Linked DNA regions of Homo sapiens: regions 2 and 3 are each linked to region 1. Evidence: promoter capture Hi-C in 16 types of primary human blood cells and fetal thymus (Javierre and others, 2016). All regions are on one chromosome and are shown on one strand. The core of a region is centred on a gene start or on the middle of the fragment in contact, and the rest is flanking DNA. Distances in the headings are between cores, read along the strand shown.

Region 1 (3,571 bases), core at 693-3,192:
AGACAGGGAGGGAGGAGGAGAAACTGAATCACAAAGGAAGGTCACATAAGAGCTATGGGGTGGGGTGAGATGGGGTTGCAGAGAGAAGAATTCTATGTCTGAGTCCCTGCCCACCCTGACCAGAACACTGTGCTATTTCCACAGATGGCTGGGAGAGATGCAACATTGCTGCCCCTCAGACCCTAGCGTCAACTGGGAACATTTGAGGAGAAAGGAAATTTGATCCACAACACAGGGTAAGGTGTGTCTTGGGCTCAGAAAAGCACCTTGTCTCTTCCTTCTGGCCATGCTCAGGCTCCATGACCCTTCTGATGGGGTGCTGGGCAGGGATGGAGGGCCCTCCCTGCTTCCTTCCTCCTCTTCCTGAAGCCCTCCTCTGCCTCAGGAGGTGGATCTTTCCCCCTTTCTCCCCCACACAGAGCCTGATTGCTAGCTTGCTTCTCAGGGGGTTGGTGAATAAGCCCTTGGGTGACATTAATTGCCATCAGGCATTAGGGGCCTAATGAGAATAATCTTCTTTGACGACTCCAGCACCTTCTATCCCCAGGGCCTCCAAGAGCTGGCCAGCTCTCCTCAGGCTGCACCTCCCCCCAGCTCCAGACAGATGTAGGGGTGGGGGAAGGGCCAGAGCAGCCCTCTACAGGCCCCAGTACCAAGCGAGGCAGCAACAGCCAGCAGCCAGGGAGGAGGAAGCCTTCCATGAAAAATGCAAGCACATTTTCCAAAAACAAAATGTCACCGTCCTAGATGAAAGGAAACTCTCAGGGTCAAGAGGGCTAGCATGGAGTCAGGCAGATGGAGGGCACGGTTTGAGTGCCCCAGCTGGCTTTGCTCTGACCTGGCCCCACACTCTCACTCCAGTTGAGTGCAGAGGTATGGAAGGGTGACCCTCAAGATCCATATCCTCCCCAGTAGGGATATGTCCATGGGATTGAAGACCCTGTCCCTCCAGAGCAGGGTAGGATTGAAATTCACCCTCTGGGGATTGGAGTTGATACCCAACGAAGCTATAAAATCATTGCCATGGATCCGATGCCTGGTTGACAGATGAGGTGTGAAGGTTGACTTGCCGGGTCTGATCTAGGTTGCACTCTAATGGAAAGGGCCTGATGGTGGGAACAGATATCACTCCAGCCACCCCTCCCGCTAGTCAGCAGGTGCCTGGGTGAGTATGCAAGAGGGGCAGTTCCCCACCCCCACCTCATGCCTCTTTAAAGGCTTGCTAAACAACCTGTAGGAAAGCACTGTCCCCTCCTCTTCTCCGTCTTCCTTCCCCAGCAACAGAATAAATAGGTTTCCCACAGCTGCGCCCCGGACCCATCCCGCACGAAGCTGAGCCCCAGAGCCCCCGCGGCCCGAGAGGAGCTGGGCACAGCAGCGAGGCTGATTCCCAGCCAGTGCCCAGCGAACTCTGGGGGTGGGGGTAGGGTGCCCCCTACCCGCGCCTCTGGAAGAGCGGCTGCAAAACACCTCCGGCGCCCGGTGGGGAGCGTGCATCCTTTGAAAAGGGACATCAGTGACTGCGGTGGCGTCTACCCTGGAGAAACGCAGCTGAGGGAGGTGGAGGCTCCTCCCGCCGCAGCTGGCCGGCCCCATTCGGGTCCCAGCGCTAGCCGGCGTTGGGAAGGAAAAATCAAACATAAAATAGGGGCGAGCGGAATCGCGAGGTCGGCCCTTGGCCCGAGTCTCATTAAGGAGCCGCGCGCGCCGCCAGGCTAGGAATGCGGAATGGACACGTGGACAGAGGAGGGGGAGCTAGGAGTCGGGGAGTCTCCGTGGCGCGCGAGCTGTGGGCCGCGCGCTCGGGGGCCACGTGACCACGGGGAATCTGGGAGGGGTGGGAGTGAGCGCGCCAAGCTCGGCGCCCGCTTCTGCCCGGGTGGGCGCTGAATCCCGGACGGAGGAGGAGGGCGGGCGAGCGCGAGTGTGTGTGTCTCTCTCGAGTCATTTACGGCGGAGCAGCCGGCGCGAGCGCCGAGGAGGCGGCGACGGCGGCGGCGGCTGCTTCGTGCAACTGTGGCTTCCCCCACCTCCTCTTCCTTTTTGCTCCTCGATTCTTCTTCTTCCCCCACACACGTCCATGGGGAGCCGGCTCCCCTGCCAGCACCTCCTCTCCTCTCGGCCCCGTAGGCACCAGCTGCCGCTTCCCTGGCCGCAAGCTGCGCAGGTGCCGGCTGCCCTGGCCCCTGGCGCCGCGCCCGCGTCTCACCGCCCGCAGCCCGGACTGGCGCGGCGATCCGCTCGCCCAAACTGACTCGGAGGGAGCGGGAGCCGATGCCCGGCAGCATCGAGACAGCGGGCGAACGGGCGTCCGGGGACAGGGTGGGGGCGGCGGGGAGGAGGCGTCGGAGACTCTGAACCCCAGAAAAGTTCAAGGTTTGTGCAGGTTCCCCCAGGGAAGGCGAGGAGCGAGGCGGGGCAGCGCGCCTCTCTGCCGAGACAGCGAGACCTTAGCGGGGTGGCCCGGAGCTGCCGTGAGCTGCAGGAGCCCCTCTGCATCTTACAGCGTTTATGGTCATCAAGCTGGAGTCGACGTCCTGGGCAGGAAGGGCTCGGGGCAGGGCGCATTAGCCGGCTTTCTCGCTCCCTCGCTTCTCCAAGCCCCATCTACATGGGGCAGCCCGTTCTGGCCGCGCCACCCTTGCCCCAGCCGCCGAGCGGCTGCCTGGGCAGGAGGCGCTGAGCCGGCCTGTGTGGAGCCTGGGCCCTGATCCAGACTGGAGAAAGCGCGCTGGAGCGGAGGAGCGAGCCTTGCGAGGGGACAAACATCTGGCCGCCCGCCTCGGGCATCCGGTCTGGGCGTCGCCTAGGGTGGTGGCGACCGGCGTCGCCAGTTTCAGCACCGCACGGAAACTTTTCCTTCTCCAGATGGATTAAAGTTGTCTGGATTTTCTCTTTCTTTGAGAAAGACAGCATTCATTTGCACCTGACCTGGGATTTTTATGCTGGGCTGCTGCAGGGGCTTGGAGGAAGAAAGCGGCGCTATCCATGTGCGGTTACTACCGAAACCGAGGAAACTGGGGATTGCGTTGGAAGTCGGCACCCTCGAGTGAGTTCGGATTCGAGCTGGGCCGTGAGGCCGGGAGATTCAGCACTGGGCTCTAGGTAGCCCCCGGGACGCCCGCGGCCACCGGGCTCCGGACTGCACGTGCAGCTCCCCCCGCGCCTCGCAGATCCTGCAGGGGGCACCAGCTGGGGGAGGTGGAGGCTCCTCCCGCCCGGAGCTGCGCCCCCACCGGCTCCGAGGGTGTAGCCGCCAGCGCCTGGGACGCCCCCTCCCCGCAAAGTGTCCCCGAATTGCACTCTCTGGTCCCGGAGCTGCATCTGAGACAGCCGGGCGCCACGGCAGCCCTGAGTTGGATGTGACCAAGCCCAGCCTGGGGCCAAGTCGTCGTCGACTGTTGCTCTCTCGGACCCCTCCCGCCCCCGCCTCGGCCATGGCCCCGGGGATGTCGGGCCGCGGCGGCGCCGCCCTGCTCTGCCTCTCAGCGCTACTCGCCCACGGTAAGTGTCGCGGCGCGGACTGGGGGTGAGGATGCGGCAGGCGCCACTGGAGGGGGTACGGGGAAGA
Region 2 (3,571 bases), core at 497-2,996, 330 kb after region 1:
TGACAGTATTAATGGAAGTTTTGCAAATTGATTTGGGGAGATTAGATGGAGGGAGGCTGCCATGACTTAACATGAAGCCCATTCTAATTGGCTCAGATCCTCCTGTCTTTGATCCCTGGCCAGGGCAAAAGGAAAGAACAGGAGTCAGGGGACCCAGGTTCCAGGCCTGGCTCTCCTGAAGGAAACTTGTGACCTTGGGCCTGCCACTTCTCACCGTGCCTCTTCCTTAAAATGACTGGGTTGGACTAATGTAGACTCATTAAGTGGTCTCTCCTTTCATGATTTCTCTGATTTCTATGAATTAGAGGCTGGCAGAATGGCTCACCTTAGAGGAACAAGCTTCCTTCCTTCCTTCTTTCCTTCATCCATTTATTCACTCACCTCTTCACTCCATACATATGATTGAGGATCTATATGAGGCTCTGCAGGAGGCACCAGGAACAGAGATGAATTAGCTGCTTCTGGCTGGCAATAAAGACATGCTCAGGAAAATCAAAGGCAAGCAGTGCCCACCATGGACTGGGCTAGGTTGGCATTCTGGGTTCAGGGTATACTGTCCCTGCCTCCACCATCGCCTCTGCTCCAAAAAGACCCAGAGGAGGGGAGAACCGGAAGAGAAGTGTGATGGGAGAATTGGCCTTGGTGCCAGAGGCCTGGATGCTGGAACCAGCTCTGGCTTGAATCGCTGTGTGATCTGGAGCCACCTTCTGTTTCTAACCATCAGTTTCCTTCCCTGAAAATGGGGAAGTGGGGATGATAATTCTTATTCTGCCTCACTGCAGGGTAGTCAAAAAGAGCGTAATTAGTGAGCCCCAGGGCCTTTTGTATATGGATTGGGGGAGAAGGGCTACCATCTTTTCCATTGCCAGGGAGCTGCCCTGTCTGTCTCCAAGGAATCCAGCCACGAGACAGAGTACCCACAGGCCAGGCCCTGGGCTGAAATTTCCACCACACCCAGCCCCCATCTCATAAGTGACAGTGACCTCAAACTTTTAAAATATTCCCAGGGAGACAGGCAGGACAAGAACAATGGGGAATGGTCCTAGAGCCGAGGAAAGCAGAGTGACAGCCAGGAGAAAGGCCCGGGGTCTGTCCTGCTCCCCACAGAGGGCCCTTGGTGGGGGGCCCGGACCCTCGAGCACATCCCCAACACTAAACCATCCCATTGCTGAGAGCCAGGGGCCCATCTGGACTCTAGTAACCCAGGGAGGTGAAGTAGCTCACTTGGGGAAGTGCCCCTGGTCCCACACCCAGTGGGGGCAGAGTTAGGATTCTCAGAGTTAGGGGCCCTCTGGCTCCCCCCATGCACAAGGTGTGCTCCTCTAAGCTGGGCCCTTCTATGTTTCTGTCCTTATCTTTCTAGCAGCCAGCATCTACGTCTCAGCTCCTCCCTCCCGCTATCCGCCAGAGGCTGGAGTGCCTTCACTCCAGCAAGCTGGCAAAACCACATGCCTCCTCCTAAATTCTGCCAACACCACGGTCCCCAACTCCAGAGCTTCTGCTGGCTCTGGGCTCATCATACTCACCTCTCCACCATCACTGCCAACAGCAGCAAGAAGGGTTTATGGGGCTGGGTTTTATTCGAAAAATATGTTTTCAATTAAAGTTGAGAAGTATGAGAGAATGCTGCCTTAGGCAGGCAGCCCCTCTCTGAGGCTTCCTTAAACAGACGGTTTGTAGCATTTTTAATTAATGAGAGGTGGTACAGATGGGGGCCCTTAATAGCCTGCAGCAAAATGTGGAGGCTGGGGAGGGGAGGGAGGTGACACTAAGCAGGCTCTGGGCCAGGGAGGGAGCCCAGCCCTTCAGCCCTGTCTCCTCCACACTGGCCTCCCTGGCGGCCTTGAGAAGAAGACCGCGCACCCTGGATTCTCTCTCCCCTGCACCCGCATGCGAGAAACGAGGGAGGTGGAAACATGCTGCTGTGCACAAATCAAACGGTCCTGAAGGGTGTTTGCAGACCTTGCTTTAAGAATCTCACACCCCTCTATCCCCAGATCTCTACCTTGAGCAAGCCTTAGTATCCTCGTGGGCAAGACAGGATTGGGGAATCCTAAACCTCCAGGCTTGAAAGGATTACAAAGTCCATGTAATTCAACCCAGGCACTTGCATAGCTACCAAAACTCTCCTGCCAAGAGGTGGCCTGGTCTCCGAGGCCAGGGTCCTCATTACTTCCCAGAGTCATTCCAAAGCCAGTGTTACCTGCGGTCAACTCTTGTTAGAAAACAAGGGGAACTCTGCCTCCCTGAGTTAATTATTATATTTGTGAAGATTAAGAGAAGACAATGTATATGGAGTTGCTTTGAACACTGACTGAAGCTATTTTTAATTATTGAAGCAGAGGATCTGGAGCCAAGAGAGGAGAATGTAGGAGTCCGCTAAGACAGGGGCTCCACACAGCATCCCAACCTTGGCTGTGGAAGCCCACTGCAACCAGCCTCCCCGACCCTATCCCACCCTAGAGTCTGTCCACACCTCCTGGAGTATTTGCTCATCCCTCAAAAAGAAAGCATGGCCAGAGATGGAGTACGTAGGTCAGCCTTAACCATTTACTCAATCAGTAAAATTCCCCAGACGTGCCAGGGAGAAATCCACTGGGAACAGAGAGCATATTCCAATCTGATTTGGGGGGAGATGAACAATGAACAAATCCAGGATTTTATTTAATAGTGATGACTGTTCCAAATAAAATAAAGCAGAAGATACAGAACATGGCAGGAGATGGAGCTGTTTTTTTAAAAAAGAAAGGGTAACTAAGTTGAGTTGGGGGAGTAAGCCCTGTGAGAGTCTGGGGAAAGAGTGTTCTTGGCTAAGAGAAAAGTTGGCTGGGCACGGTGGCTCATGCCTGTAATCCCAGCATTTTGGGAGGCCGAGGTAGGAGGATCACCTGAGGTCAGGAGTTCAAGACCAGCCTGGCCAACATGGTGAAACCCCCCCTCTCTACTACAAATACAAAAATTAGCTGGGCATGGTGGCACGCACCTGTAATCCCAGCTACTCAGGAGGCTGAGGTAGGAGAATTGCTTGAATCCCAGAGGCAGAGGTTGCAGTGTGCTGAGATCATACCACTAAGCTCCAGCCTGGGCGACAAGAGCAAAACTCCGTCTCTGAAAGAAAAAAAAAAAAGTCAGGGAAAGTTCCCAAGACAGAAACAAGCTTGACAGGAGGAACAGCAGGAGGGCCAGTGTGGCTGGAGAGAGTTGGGAGGGTAAGAGATGATGAGGCTGGAGAGGCAGGTGTGGGGCCTCTTAGGCCATTGTGATGGGTGGGAATGGGGATACGGGAGAGCCTTCCTGGCAGAAGCCTTCCTCCCATTCCTGCCACAGAAACACCCGCCTCCCAGGCCCATGCTCTGCTGCTGCTTAAGGTTTGGTGAGGACATGGAGGTGACAAATATTTGTCATCCACTGAGGCATCCCAGAAATGGGATGGTGAGGAAGGGCTCACTAGATGGCTGTGGCGAGGGAGAAAGAAGTGGTTCATTACTCATGGGAGACAAGAGAATATGGATTTCTGTGGAGAAGGGAAAAGATTGTAAAATTTAGACAAAGCAGACAGAGAGAAGGGAAG
Region 3 (3,571 bases), core at 713-3,212, 300 kb after region 1:
CAGCAGCAGAGTGATTCAACTTCTCCCTCCACCCCATCCTGCTTCCCTCACTCCCTTACAGGTATTTTTCCTGAGTGCACACCCCTGTAAACCTTCTGCACACAAATTTAGTTCTCCAGAATCTGTTTGCAGGAGAAACTGACCTATGGCAGTCACAGAGCTTGAACACAGCGGAACTGGGATTCTAATTCAAATGGGATTGACTCGGACACCATTACTCTTTCTGTTCTTCCACAATGCCTCTGCCTTGCCTTTGATCAGTCATGGTGGGTTAGGGTCTGGGGATCCCCAGGTGAATATGACACAGGCCTTGTCTTTAGGATATCCTATTCCTCTGGAAGAAGCAGTTCCTCAGGAACAGGGTGCCAAGGGCAGAGCAGATGCTGGAGGAACCCATGGGCAGCCCCACTGGCATAGGCTATCTTGGGATCTAGACCACAGCAATGCCCCTGCCAAAGGTCAACAAGACAGGTCCTCTGCTCCAGGCTCAGAGCCTACAACCTCCAGAGAGGATCTCAGCCAGCAGGGCTTACAGCAGGCACTGCTACATGAGTCCCCTGCGGTAAACATGGACCAAAAGCCACCTAGGTGTCTGTTTTTTTGGAAAAGGATGTAGAATTCCCAGTCCCTGGCTGGGTCCCTGCAGGCTCAGCTTAATTCTCAGCTCCTTGAAGGCCTAATATCCTCTTAAATGTCCTTCTTCCAGCTTCTCCTGAGGTTTGGCGCTGCTCTGATGACCACCTTTATCTTTTCTGCAGTTTCTCTCCATTCTCTCCTGTGGCTCCGCCTGTTCCTGGGAGTCTCAAGAAACTCTCCAAACATACTCGCCCTGTCTCCTATGATTCCACTGCCCAGTGCCACTTCCCAGGCCTCTATCACGCCTCTCAGATGCTCAACAAGTATCAGAAAGGAGAAAGGGAGACAGGAAGGAAAGGAGGAAACAGAAAGGGAGGAAAAGGGAAGAGCAGTTGTTGAGGGAAATGTGAAGAAAGATCAAATGATAGGGATGCCCTATATTTATCTGTTTTAATGTCTCAGGCCTCCAAAGCATCATTTAGTGTTTCTCCAAACACTGTCATCCTCCAAGGCAGGTCCCTTGCCTTCAGTTCACAGCTGGAAACACTGGGCCTCAAGAAAAAGGGAGAAAGCTTTCCTGAGTACATTCCGAAGCAGCAGCAAGTGATTCAGATCTTGGGCATCCTAATTGCCTGGCAATGCTGAGACCCTGGGTGTGAAGTACTAATGGGCAGATTCCACCCACGTAATGATCAGAGAGTGGTGAACAGATGCTTGCAGGCAGATCAGAGCCACATCAGCAGGAGCGGGAGTCACTCCAGGCATTCTTCACATCCCCTGCTGGCTTCAGGTAAGGGCCGCTGGGCCTCAGGAGAGGCACAGTTTCTGGGGGAAACCACAGCCCTGGTGCCTTCAGGGAACAGAGAGTACATGCACTCTCTGCTATCCAGCGCTGGCTTCAGAGGCTAAAAGGCTGAGGCCTAGCTCCAGCTCGTCCTCCTATTTGCTATGTAGCCTTGGCCAAGTCTCTTTCCTATTCTGGCCTCCGTCTTCCTGCCTGTAAAATGTGAAGGGTGGATGCAGTGGTTTCTGAGGGACCTCCAGAAGGGAGACCTCCAGGATCCAGGGCCCACCAGGTGAGAGACACACGTGGACCAGCCCCACATTGAGGCTCACTCAGTCCCCTCATGGGGTTGAACACCAACCTCGAAAAACCAGAGGCAGCTGGAGCCCCTCAAGGTACCTGGCCTAGTCCCCCTCGATTTCCTCCAGGTCTGTGCATCTAGACTCCTGGTTCTGGGGCTGGGCCCTGAACCTCTCTTAGCTGTAGAAGAGGAGGAAGAGAAAGACTAACACTTGCTAAGCACCTCTTCTGGGCTGGGCACAGAACCATTGGCTTTTACACACATTTCTTGCTGGGATCCCCCCAGTGAGTGGTCTTATCCCCACCTGAAAAATCTAAGGTTCAGGGAAGTTAAGTAACTTGCTCAACATCACCCAGCTCTTGGTTGCCAAGGTCAGAATTCCAGCCTGGAGCAGTGCATGTTTACCTTTGCATTGTCAGAGAAGTCATTTGCCATCAGATCCCATCCCTTTCCTCTCCAAACCAAAGATCCCCTGTGCATTTTGGAAGAGGAAGACAGCATGTTGCCCTGAGAATCCAGGTTTCAGGGCTCATGTGAGAGGAGGTCAGACATAATGGAAGAAACCCAGGCTCTGGGGGCAGCAGCCTTGAGGTTGGGTCCTGACTCTGCTACCTGCTAACTAGGTAAACTTGAGCAAGTTATAACCTCAATTTTCTTATCTGTAATGAAAGGATATTAATATCTGCTGCATGGAGTTGTTGCAGTAATTGAGCCTGACAATGGATATAAAAATATCTGGCATAGAATATGTGTTGGATAAATACAACCCTCCTTCCATTTCTGCACAGCCCAGCTTCTCTTAGGCTCAAGTTCTGATTCTCTCTCATATTTTAAGCCCTGAGGGATGGGCTTGGATACATTTACTCTAGCAAAATGTCTCTATCATAAAGGCAAGCTCAAGAAAGTGGTTTTCTTCCTCTGCCCCCGGCCACAGAACCCCATCAAGGAGGCACAGTGCAGGCAGTGGCCTCGGAAGCAGAGCTGGCCATAGCAGGCGCTGCCTTCCTCCCCCAAGCCTCAGAGCTTGCCATCTCTATGCCTTCCCCTTCAAGCTGAAAGCTGGCACACAGGCACCACAAGCCAGATGTTTGAGTTTTGTTAAGAGCAGCTTAAATAAAGCTTTTAGAACAATAATTCTCAGCCATCAAAGGGACATTTCTCTTCTGGCTTCATCTCTGACACACAGGAGATTTTTAAAAGAAGAAACAGGGGAGGAAAACAACGCCTCTACAAAGCAGGAACATTTTTAAAAGCACAGCGATTTTGCCATCATGCTCTAGCCTTTCTGATATCTCCAATGAAAGAGGAAAGGAATTTCGTGGAAGAGCCAATTTTTCCCAGCTCTTGGCACACATCTGGAGCCCCAGAAGTGTCTGGGGGAAGCTGAACAGGTGGTGGCCATCTGACAAGCCCCCTAAGGCAGAGTTTAAAGAGACATACACTTGGATGACATTGCCAAGTTGGGAAGTTTGCCTCTCTCTCCCTTCTGACACCTCTTCTTCTCCCAATCAAGACTTTGCCAAGAGTGTGCTTTAGGAAGGGACAAAGCCCACCCCTCCAACTCCATGCAAGAGGGCACCTGGGAGAGGGACCTGAGGCTGGATGCCCCTTGTAGCCTAGAGTTCTCCTTCCCAAGGAAGGTGATAGTAAAGGGAACACAGAAGGTAACACCACCCAGAAGGTTGGCATACACATGGTTGCAAACGCTTCCAAGAGCCAGGTACAACACATCATTGTCATGGTATAAGTATCTACTGCTAGGAGTTGAAGACCAGATTCCTAGAGACTCTGCTAAGCCTGACGTAGCTTTAAAACAAACCCTGCCTGGTAAGAGCCATTGGAGGAATCACCTGCTCAAAAATGAAACAAGGCTTTCAATAATGATCAAATGGCTACCATCAGATCTGTCC

Evidence for each region. The method cuts DNA at HindIII sites, captures the fragments that hold promoters and counts their contacts. A CHiCAGO score of 5 or more calls a contact.
Region 2: a contact is called between a fragment that was not itself captured here and the fragment with the promoter of TMEM132E in region 1, in 1 of 17 cell types (naive CD4 T cells). The highest score is 5.3, in naive CD4 T cells.
Region 3: a contact is called between a fragment that was not itself captured here and the fragment with the promoter of TMEM132E in region 1, in 2 of 17 cell types (megakaryocytes and naive CD4 T cells). The highest score is 5.1, in megakaryocytes.

What each region holds. Positions count from the first base shown.
Region 1 is chr17:34,577,640-34,581,210 of GRCh38, forward strand. It overlaps TMEM132E (transmembrane protein 132E), which reads left to right and starts at 1,943. Exons shown (of 9, transcript NM_001304438.2): 1 at 1,943-3,504. The coding sequence starts at 3,438. It overlaps TMEM132E-DT (TMEM132E divergent transcript), which reads right to left and starts at 1,730. Exons shown (of 2, transcript NR_160787.1): 1 at 1,232-1,730. RefSeq lists enhancers at 895-1,431, 1,432-1,967. The HindIII fragment of the contact is 10,264 bases long and covers 1-3,571 here.
Region 2 is chr17:34,908,496-34,912,066 of GRCh38, forward strand. All of the region lies in intron 2 of LOC105371742 (a long non-coding RNA gene), which reads right to left. Among named protein-coding and RNA genes, the nearest start is that of CCT6B, 51 kb to the right of the region's middle. The HindIII fragment of the contact is 2,818 bases long and covers 338-3,155 here.
Region 3 is chr17:34,876,324-34,879,894 of GRCh38, forward strand. All of the region lies in intron 2 of LOC105371742 (a long non-coding RNA gene), which reads right to left. Among named protein-coding and RNA genes, the nearest start is that of CCT6B, 83 kb to the right of the region's middle. The HindIII fragment of the contact is 1,632 bases long and covers 1,147-2,778 here.